2 separate regions of the Homo sapiens genome follow, and region 1 is linked to region 2. Evidence: promoter capture Hi-C in 16 types of primary human blood cells and fetal thymus (Javierre and others, 2016). All regions are on one chromosome and are shown on one strand. The core of a region is centred on a gene start or on the middle of the fragment in contact, and the rest is flanking DNA. Distances in the headings are between cores, read along the strand shown.

Region 1 (5,980 bases), core at 530-3,029, 260 kb after region 2:
GGGCACCCAGTATGTGTCTTTGTGTATTGCAAGTGCCTATAAGAGTATAGTTATTAAGGTCACAAGCTCTTGGGTCAGAAAGCCAAGCCACAACACCAATAACAAGCTGTATAATCCTGCAAGTTATATCATGTCTCTGAGACTTAGTTTCTTCATCTGAATTACAGGAATAATCGCCATGTTTATATCATCTAGTTGCGGTAAGGACTAAATGACAAAATGCACGTAAGGCACCTAACACAATTGTCACATCCATTGTTTGTCTAAATGCATTTTGCCATCATTATTAAGTAAATAAAATATATAACTTACATGTATGTGATGTAGTGGGAAAAAGCAAGTTAAATAGGCATAATTTACCTATTTACCATAGAATTCCATGCACTAATATAGATTGTCACTATAATCTATATTTATATATATAGATTGTCACTATAATCTATGTATAAGAGATTTATACTTTTGTAGCTGTGGCATTTAAACCTACTGATTAAAATCTAACTTCTATGTATTAGCTATAGAAAAATGAACTTGAGGCATATTTCTCTTTGCAGCCAAACACCTACCCCCAGAGAACTATCACAGCAATATTGTTGTACTAAGACTTACAGTTCTTATTTAGAAAACTGTCTAGATTTGCCAACAGTTAAATAGATTTTCCAACCATCAAAATAATTTTAGAGCAATTTACTTTCAGTTAAGAACATGCGGGTATCTTTTTCTGCACTATGAAGTCATTGAAGCAAAATCCAAAGCACTGTTTTGAAATGGAATAACAAGGTTAGGGGTCAGAGAGACCCAGATTCAAACTCCAGTGCACTTATTAGCTGAGAGAACCCAGGAAGGTTTATTGGTTTCCCTGTGAATGATAATACTTGCTGTATTGATTTGTCTTGCTAGTTGGATTTTAACTGGTAACAAGACATAAATCATAATGTTTGATACTACTTACTTCCCTATGGGCCTTAAGTTCACTTTTCAGTGTATTCTTCTTAATGTTCTGTGAGACTGGTAAATAATGAAGTATATATATATATATGTGTGTGTATATATATATATATATATATATATATATATATATATATACACACACATATATATATATTACTTGAACTTCCTCAATTTTGGAGATTAGGTCATAAACTAATGTGGCATGTAATTTGATACATGTTCCAGCAGGGGAAAATACTGGGATGTAATTTAACGAAAGAAACATTTTGAAATGGGAATATTCTCTGAAAATATGGAGTATATCATTACAATTCCTTTTCAGCTTTAGGACTCATAATAAACTGGGCACTGTCCAGTTTATGAGCAGCGAGTTCCTATAGTTTGAAAGTTTGCGTCCCCTCCAATATTCATGTTGAAACTTAATCGCCGATGCAATAGTATTTAAAGTTGTGGCCTTTTGAAGGTGATTAGGCAATGAGAACTCCTCCCTCATGAATGTGATTAAGGTCCTTATAAAAGAGATTTCACTCAAGGTTCAGTCTTTTTTGCCCTTCCTCCTTGGCCCATCTGAGGACACAGCATTCGAAATGCCACCTTGAAACAGAGAGCATCCCTCACCAGACACGGAACCTGTCTACGCCTTGATTTTGAGCCTCCCAGCCTTCACATCTGTGGAAAATAAATTTCTGTAAATATTTCCCACCTGACAGATCTTTGCTTATAAATTGGCCGGTCTGTTTGTTATAGTAGCACACATAGACTAAGATACTAGTTTTTAATTTGGGTACTGCAGCTGATGGAATAACCTGGGTAGAGTCATACCATCTTTTAGGAATCTCACCTTCCTCATAAAAAATGAAAGAGACAAGCAGGATGATCCCTGGGGACTAAAGGTAATATTTGTATCCATCATGGAGCTATTGGGAGAACTAAATGATATACATCTCTCAAATGGATTTGCCAGCCATAATGTGTGATATAGTAATATCAATTTGTGAGTAAGTTGGGTAGAGTGGAAGGAACTTAGGAATGTATACCAGTTTATTCTGAGAAATTTGTGTTTTGTCTTCTTTGAATGGGAAATGGCTGAAAATTCTTAAATTCCTTCAATGTACCATAAAAAAGTGAAATCCTATATCACTGCCTTTGGATGTGATACATGACCCATAGTAGGTATTTTCGTAGATGAAAGAATTCCTATCTATGGCATTTATCTTATGTGAAAAGTGGCAATTAAGATAGTAACATATTTGCCACTTAACAGATATTTGTTAATGATGAAATAAAGTTTTCCGGAACTCCTGAAATTAATGTCCATAGAGATTTCAAGAAGATGGAATAACCTAACTAATTAGACAGTATGTTTGTTGGTGTTTAAAGGTGAGACAAGACCACTGAGATTAAAAGATCAGAAAATTCTCCTCACACACCTAATACATTTTCTCTATGCCACCTGGTACTTCTGTACTCAAATGCTGCTTGATTTTTATATTTATACCCAAGAATTACTGATTTCAGGTAAGAACAGAGGGCTTGAGAGAAGAATTTGCTCATCACTGCCTGCCATGAATGGGCATAGCTCTGTGAACAGTTATTGTATTTTTTTTTCCTCAGGTATATAGAATACTTTATCAAAACCAAAACTCACTGTTTCTCCAAGTGAGTTCCTTGGAATACTAATAGATGCTATAAAAATGTCATCTAGGTGTGGTGGCTCACATCTGTAATACCAGCACTTTGGAAGGCCGAAGCAGGAGGATTGCTTGAGGCCAGGAGTTTGAGACCCAAAGCCCTATCTCTTAAAAAAAATATAGGTGGATGCAGTGGTGCATGCCTGCCTATACTCCCAGCTACTCAGTATAGGCTGAGGCGGGAGGATTTCTTGAGTCCAGAGTTCAAGGCTGCAGTGAACTGTGATTGCACCACTGCACTCCGGCCTGGGTGACTGGTCAAATAAGTTTGGGAAATGCTAAGGGTTCCTTTATTGCAGGATTTCTCACAGCTTTTGATGTGTTGGACATGGGTTAGTGTCACTTCTTTCTTTTTTCTTTAACTATGGGTCTCTTGGTCACAAGCATCTCATAGGATTAATATAAATGTTCTAAAAGCCATTTATTATGAAGTTAACCACACTTAATAAACTAGAACACCAGTTTATGAGTGATGCTTGTCTTCACAGTAGTGCAGATCCTATTAAAGATGTTTAGAGAACAGGTTCTTAGGTGATCTAAACCAGAAAGGCCTTTTTCATATATCTTGATAATATTAATATAATGTTGAATTTTGTCTTGTATTATATTATGATGTTTTGAATTTTAAAGTTTACTATTTGCATTCTTCCCACCTAATTAATTTTTTTAATTTGAGACCTTATGACAGAAAACCATCAGCATTGCCCACATATTACTCAAAACACAAGAATTTCATTTATTCCCATAGCACCTGGAATCTATGCTGGCATTTAGACAAGCCTAATGCCTAGTGTACCACTAGAGTGAGATTCTCTGTCCACTCTTAACTATTTCTAGAGCCTATTTTTCTATGGTTTCACATCTTATGACTTATATAAAATTGGTACTACTTGGCCTTTGTGGAAGGATTTTAAGTCAAGGTAAACCTTGAATTGAGGTTAGATTAAAAGTGGTAGAACTTACTTAGGGAGCAATAACTTTTAATAGTCATAGTTTCTTTTCGGTTCCTGGTGTGTGTGTGCAGAAAGAAAGAAGTCTGATGATTCTCTGGTTCATGGGAGTTGACTTTTATGCCCTGAAAGTGAGGCTTTGCTTCTGTATCCTCACACTGGGGAACAGCAGTGGTTAAGAGGCTCCACCAGTATTACTCATGTGGTCACAATCAAGTTGCTTAACTTCATGTCTTGCTTTCTTCATCCATAAAATGAAGTTAATAGTACTATTTCTCAGGGTTATTGTGAGGACTAAAGGCCATAACATATATTTCATAATAGGGGATCTGTAAGTTGTAGTTACTGTTATCCTTAAAACTATAGGCCATTAGTGCATATGTTTAATAGGCTTGAAGCTGTGCCATTATTTGACAAGTTAAACTCTTGGTTGCATCATCCATATTCTCAATGTTTTTCTTTAGGTATTTGCATTTGCCATCTATAGTATATAGGCTTCTATCTGGCAAAGTTTTCACTTTTAATGGTATCTTTAACAATATTTTTCAAAAGCTTTGAGCATCACTCATATTTCAAAAATAGTAAGGTCATGTTAAACTTTTAAATTAAATCGTTTCTTCCTAGACTATTTCAAGATTTGTAATACCTGGTTAAAATTGTTTAGCAAACACAATTTTTCTTTCTATGAATGTTAATTAAAAATTAAATTTGACTCTCTTTAGTTGAAATTAGTCATTTTGTATCTGTGCATGAATTACATTTTCCTTGATTCTTATAGTACCTTAGTATAAATAAATTTAGTAAGAGTTTAAAAAGAAGTTTCCTTGGTTGAGGTACATACAAACAATATGGGAAATTGAACACCTATTGACTTTATTATTTTTGCCATAGATAAATCTCTACTGTCGAAAGCAGTAGTTAATGAGACATTTATTTTATTTTATGGGTCTCTGAAACATGCTTCTCTATTAATCAATTTGCTTGCAATTTTGTTTGAAGATTAAAGATTCTTTAGAAGGCATTGTCTACATATTATTACTTATGGATACCAGATGAAAATCTAAATAAAATTAATTTAAGATCTCTTATATTAGTTCTGTCCTACACATATACCAAAGAATGTGGAATGGCTGAATAAGGAAAATTAAATTTTAAGTTTACACAATTTTAAAGTCAATAATGCTTTCAAATAAATTATCTATACATAATATTGAAAAGGAATAGCTCTTAGAATATCTAAAATAAAAATAGATGATTGAGTGGGATATTTCACATGAGTTGGTGGTTTATAAAACTTTGAGAAAGTATGTTAAAGAATAAATTGTGTAAGTAATAGCGAACTAGACTCAGTATTTAATTTTATGCTTAGCTGCTCAAAATTTCATGGTTTGAGTTGAGAATTCTTAAGTCAAATAATTTATTTGAAGGATACTGTAGAGCATTTGAAATACTGTGAAGGTGTGACTAGAAATCTGTTTTTCCCATTTTAAAAAAAAAACAAATTGTTATTCTAGACTATAAAATATAGAAAGTCATAATAGATGGATACTCTTCTCTGTAAATATATTTTCCCCTGATACTTAACTGTACCATGTTATTCTAAATTATTCCTGGTAAATGCTTACAACTCTTCCAAGTGTCTGGAAACTCATCAAGCTTCTTTTAATCATGTCCCTCAAATATTCGGCTTGTAATTTACTAATATTCATGCCCTGTTTAGATTGTAAACAGAGAAACTACAAAGTTGTAACAGAAAAGTAATATATTGAGCTGAATCATGCCTTACTTTTGTAAGTTGAGCTTGTTTCTCTGGCAACAAGATGTTAGATAATAAATCATATATCTAAAACCATATAACTACAGAAGTGGGGAGCTGAAAGTTCAGAAGTATCATCTGACTGTGTTGATGGCATCTTTACCTCAATTAATAAGGTGTGGCAACGTTCACTCAAGGACAGAAATTCAATCTGTGGTGGATCCAAGGGGATTCAAAATATTTCTTTTAATCCAACCAAAACATATTGCTTTAATGGCATTAGTTGGTATTAGTTGCATGTGGCAAAAATTTCATGCACTATTAATCCTAGCACTACACTGCAACACTAGAATTATGTGTCCTTGGCCTTAAATAAATTATTCGGTTGTATGATTGAGAAGAGAAAAACCAATTATTTTAGAGGCCAGTCCTGAATTATTGCCTTAATAAAGGTTCAATTTCAAAAAAATGGGAAGTTGCTCAGTCCAGTTGAAAAACAAGGTGGGAAGAGTAACAGCAAGTGAGTCTTTAATTTTGTCAACATCTGATGCTACTGTTAACACAAAAAGTTGCTTTGAAAAAAATTCAACTAAATAAGTTGCCTTCGTGGTTTAGTAATTCCAGATATACAC
Region 2 (5,506 bases), core at 255-2,754:
TTTTGATAAACACACACACGATATAGAACATTTCCGACATGCTCATCAGGTGCTCGTAGCCCTTCCCTGTCCATCTCTACCTATCCCTGGCCACAGGCAAGCTTTCTGTCAACATAGAATATCTTGCCTATTCTGCAATTCCTACACATGGAATCAGGCAGCATACAGTCTATCGTGTCCGGCTTCTTTTACAAAGCTTAAAGTCGCGATTCATCCCTGATCTTGCATGCCCACTCATTTTTATTGTGGAATAGTATTCCAATATTTGGGCATACCACAGTTTGTTTATCCATTCACCTGTTGATTGACATTTGCAGGCTACTAAGAAGAAAGTTCTTCACATCACTTTACAAGTCCCTGCAGACTTGAACGTTTTCATTTCTTTTGGACAAATACTTAGGAGTGGAATTTCTAGGTTGTATGATAAGTAAATATCTTACTTTATAAGAAACTATTCTCCAAAGTGGTTTTACTATTTTATATTCCCTCCAGCAATGAACAAGAGTTCCAAGCTATTTCTCTCTCCGCCCCCCCACCTCCCGCGTGTGTCTCTCTCTCTCTCTCTTTCTCTCTCTCACACTCACTCACTCTCTCTCTCCCTCTCCTCTCTCTCCTTAATAAAAAAAAAAAAAGAGTTCCAGTTGCTCCACATCCTTTCAAGCATTTGGTATTACCAGTCTTTAAAATTTTATCCATTCTGGTCCTCCTCTTTCCCTTCTTCCCTCCCTCCCTCCCTTTCTTTCTTGAATTGAGAAATGTTTGTGGAAGGAGTGAAGACAAACATTCCTGGACCTATGTTCCTAAATGAGCAAGTTTCTATTAATAAGACTCTCCCCCACCCGCCACACATCCTACACACTCAAGGAGAGGAGCGGGAGAGGGCACCCTCTTTCTTCCTCGGAAAATAAAACCTTTGCTTTCTTTAGGATGGGCTTTCTGTCTCGAAAGCACAACGTAACCGTTTGCCCGGGTTTCAAGATCAGCGCGCTGCAAACTCTCAGGCGCGGCCAGGTTTCCTCAAAGAGCCTCTCAACTGCGCTCTTCTCTGCTGATAAATGATAATTCTCTTCAAAAAGCTGGTTTGTGGCTGGCGCTGGAGAGCTCCAGCTAGAGCCAAAAGCCAGGGGTTGCCTCTTTGGTTCCTCCCGATGGGCCCCTTTTCCCAGCCAGTTGGGATCCAAAGACGCTCCGGAGCTCGAGCCCAAATTCCCAAGAAAACCCCAAAGAGCGTAAGGCTCCTGGGGACCCCTAGCACCTCTGCAACCAGGGCACGGGGCATGCTCAGAGCGAATGCGGGAGGCAGGCGTTGGCTGCAATGGGGCTCGGGAGCCAGGAGGTGCCGCTGCGTCCCCGCTTCCTGGCGCCTGACCCAGCGTGCAAAGTTGGGCTGGGAGCCGCGGGGGGAAGGAAGGACCCAGCGAGCGAGGGTGGCGGGGAAGGGGGGCGGGGGGGAGGAGGAGGGAGGAGGGAAAAGAGCGGTTAGGGGGGGCGCCGGGCGTGTGTCACTCGCTCTCTCCCTCTGTGTATAGAGGATGTGCTGAATGGTGCGCTTTGAGGCGGCGGCGGCGGAGGAGCAGAATCCGCCGCGACTGGCAGCCTCGGCTGACCGGCTCGGCTTCTCTTCGCCTTCCGAGGCTCCTCATCCACCGCGGGCTCCAGACCTCGCGTCCCGCCCGGGGCATGGCCGGGCGCTGCGCCCCCGCGCGCTCTGCCTGCTGAGCGGCGCCGGAGGGAGGTGCGGAGGCCGGGAGGCCGGGGAGGCCGGCGGGGAGCAGAGTCGAGCGCCTCCGGAGCAGAGAAAGGAGCCCGCGCCCCGCGCCCCGCGCCCCGCGCACGGTCCCCAGTCCCTGCCGCGCTCGCCCGGGCCGCCCGGAGCCCAGATGAGCCCAGATGGCCGGGGCTCAACCCGGAGTGCACGCCTTGCAACTCAAGCCCGTGTGCGTGTCCGACAGCCTCAAGAAGGGCACCAAATTCGTCAAGTGGGATGATGTAAGTATTGGGGCGGCCCGAGTCGGGGCGCTGGCTCGGGCACCGGGCAGGGCGGGCGTCGTGGGGGTGGGGCAAGGGGCGCGTTATGCAATGGGCGCACTGGGAGCGGGCAGGGGCAGCCTCGGGCGCACAGGTTGGCATCTGCCAAAGCGGATGTCCAAGGGCAGAAGCTTTGCGCGCGCTCCTGTTTCATCGGGCTTCAGTAGTTGCCATCCTTTCTGGGTCTGGCAGGCGCCCCCTGAGGGTCTTACATCTTTTGGGCCAGTGGAGAGGGAGGGGCAAGCTTTGCCTGGTGACAGGTCCTGAGAGTTCGGAAAGTAGGGAGTGTGAAGTTGGGACCAACTGGAAAGCGCCTGGTGTGAACAAATCGCGTCCCTCTCCGCCTGCGGACGCACCCCCTATTACCTCTTTTGCCCGATTTCAAGAAGGAAGGACCTGAAGTTCAAAACACTTTAGTGATTGCGAACCCTCTTGGCGCTTTTGTGGGAGCCAAGGCGGCGGAGGACACAACGGTCCAGCCAACAGGTGGTCGTTGATGCCAAACTTCAGCGCCTGGCTCCGGAGTGAGGGTCCCTGAAAAGGGCTGCGGGGACACATCTGGGGAGGGCGTGAACAGAATGGGGGCCCTTGAGGGGTCCTGGAGGGCTCATGGGCCTGCAGGCAAGTGGGGAGGGCTGACTTTTGAGAACTGAGCTGATTGGAGTCTTCTGCCTGAAATAGACAGGTTGAGAGTTTGCCCCACGATTTACCTGCACCGTTTGCCAGGTAGGGCAGAGCCTAGCCCAGCGCCGGGGTCTCTAATGCTTTACGAGCGGCCCAGACCCCAGGACTTCAAATGACTTCCCCTTCCCCTCTACCCCAGTTGTCTTCAAAACACGTAAATTAGTTATCCAGCTGAAAACATGCGAATCTTCGGATGGAGAACATTATGGTATCAGTTTTATGTCCTGGGTGTCATTCTAAAGGTTCGATAAGAAAAACCTACTGAAATAAACCCGAGTTGCCAGGCTCTAAGCAAATTTAAGTCCAAATGACTAATACATCTCTTAATCAGAAGGAATTATAGGAGAATGAGGCGTTCTTCTTGCCGAAAAGATTTTCCACCTAGTAAATTATAGCCTGTTATCCTCTAGGGTATTTTTCTTTAATCTTCTTAAGCCATTTTCCAGTGTCTGAAAACAATTTAAATATTCCAGGTAGTGAATCCAATTACTTAGCTGAGTGCGTCTGTGTCTATATTTTGTCCAGCTGGAAGCGCAAACGGAACTTGGAGTATGAACCACAGCTTCCTTGAAAGCTCGTGCCAATTATTAAATGCTGTAGGCAAGGATGTAAACATACATCTTTTTACCATGGGCTTCACACTTTTCTTCTTTCTGTTCCAGTCTAATTGTACTGAATGTTTCTGTAAATGGAATAGAATCTAAACAATAAATTCAGACGCAGATTAAATGCTTTGTGTCAGGGAAAAAAAAGACAAAGAAAATGCAGTTCAGCAATAAACAAGACGGTCTTGCCCATTTTGAGATCCTTGAATAGAGAGGTGATGTGATGATGGATTTACTGAGAAAGAGAGTGAAGGGCAGAGGAAAGAGAAAGAGACTTTGCAGAATTTAGAAAAGGGAGTTTCAGCGTAAGCTCTGGATTTGTATACAGTGATGATTCTAAACTGTATTTTAAATAATTCTCTATAATTTCTTGTTTGGGAGAGAATAGCCAACATCACATTGAGAATGAAAGTATTCTATGAAAACACATTTTGGTATATCCAGGTAGATGACTTTCATTATGTGCATTTCTGTAACACATATTTCTTGCTCACCTATTACTGCCAATCCTAGACTGGATTCTGGGGTGGTGAAAAAAGTAGACAAAATCCCTGCTGTTACGGACCTTACATGCTAGGTGGAGGAGACAAAAATCATCAAAAACACCAATGAGAGAGAGATTGGGTGATGCATTGAGGGTAATAGAGAGGACGTTAGTGAAATACCAACCAAAGAAGAAGTTGAAAAGAGCTCCTTCTGAGCATTGCAGCAGTGAGTTTCCAAGGAAGCCCTCCTGAAAGAAAGGACATAGTCACTAAGGAGAAGACCAGAAGAATTTCAGGTCTTTTTTAAAAAAAAAAAAAAAACCTAGACTGCACTCAGGAGTCAAGTTATCTGGAATATAATGAGCTATCTTGCAGGCTCTTTGGTTCTCTGGGTCTTCATGCTGATCAGTGGACTACAAGGGACCCAGCCTTTCTTAAGGTTGCCTTTCTCTTCCCCAGGCATCCCTTTTCTACTCTTCTCAGCTCGTATTTGCCCTTCCAGAATCAAGCCAGTTCAAGTTATCTGGCTATTTATATTGTACCTTAGTGAGACAGTGTGTTGAAGACAAAAAAGAACCAGATCTTGAATCAAAGGCCTGAGTTTACCTCCTAGTTCTTTCACCAGTAAGCTGCATGACTTTAGGCAAATCACTTAGCTTCTCTGTATTTTTGCTGCTTCTTGTGTAAAAGCGTGGTAATGTTACAGGACATTCAAAAATGATGAATTTGGGGCTGTTTAGGATGTGAAGAAATTATCTCTTGTTCCTGAAGTGATTAAAGCAGTATAATCACTGGTCTTGTTGTCTTGACCACCATATGGAATGGAAGATGTCACCCAGAGGTTGCAGTGCCATGCATAATTTGCTGGCCACCTACCAAGTCACAGTGAGGCTGTGGATGCTCTAAGGGTGGTAGTCGAAAGCTTTAACATAGGCACTAAACAATCACAACAGACAGCAGGGGGGTAATAGATCCTGGAGATACCCTGTTGTACCAGGGCCAGGCGTTAATATTTTTGCTGCTTGGTCATGGGGAGGTCTGGGAGTCCCCAGGGTCTGTGGATGGGTGGGTAGGTAGCTGGAGTTTTTTTGACTATTTCAGTATTTTAAAACTCATGGTGTATATTGTCTGAACATCAAGGCTATACCTGTCCTTCTGAACTTGGCATGAAGATAAAGGACTGACCTAATGATATTTAAAAAATTCAACCTCATGTCTTTGCTTTTGTTTTGCATTTGTCTGTTAGCAGGCTCTGGTGGTAGGAGGTGGGTGTAAAGGACTATGGGTATTTGTGGGAGAATTCTGGTGAGGTAGACAGTGGAAGGAGAGTTACTTTCTTGATCTAAGCTAGGGAGCTTGGGAGATTGTGAGAGAAGCTCCTCTCTCTTCTGGATCTTGGCCTTGGTCTATATTGGGCAGGACATGGAGAGAAAGAGCAAGGACTGTAAACTGTACAATAGGACCCCCAGCCACTGATTTGGCCCTGTTTTCCATGCCTAAGCACTCTGTCTCACTGTCGCACAACCTCTGAGGGATGGAAGGGTTTTCATTTATTTATTCCTTCTGTTTCTTCATTCTTACCTTTCAAATTCAGATCTTACTGTGGGCAGGTTGCTTAACGCATCCCAACTTCAGTTTCCTCAACGGTAACATGCAAATTGTAATATTTCCTAACTCAGAACAGCTGTTGAGGTTAAATAAATG

The links. Contacts are between HindIII fragments. The CHiCAGO score rates a contact against its expected background, and 5 or more counts as called.
Region 1: a contact is called between a fragment that was not itself captured here and the fragment with the promoter of PLCB1 in region 2, in 1 of 17 cell types (M0 macrophages). The highest score is 5.2, in M0 macrophages.

What each region holds. Positions count from the first base shown.
Region 1 is chr20:8,390,740-8,396,719 of GRCh38, forward strand. All of the region lies in intron 3 of PLCB1 (phospholipase C beta 1), which reads left to right. Among named protein-coding and RNA genes, the nearest start is that of PLCB1-IT1, 150 kb to the left of the region's middle. The HindIII fragment of the contact is 4,725 bases long and covers 1-4,142 here.
Region 2 is chr20:8,130,762-8,136,267 of GRCh38, forward strand. It overlaps PLCB1 (phospholipase C beta 1), which reads left to right and starts at 1,505. Exons shown (of 32, transcript NM_015192.4): 1 at 1,505-1,989. The coding sequence starts at 1,891. RefSeq lists a silencer at 1,591-1,730. The HindIII fragment of the contact is 1,963 bases long and covers 195-2,157 here.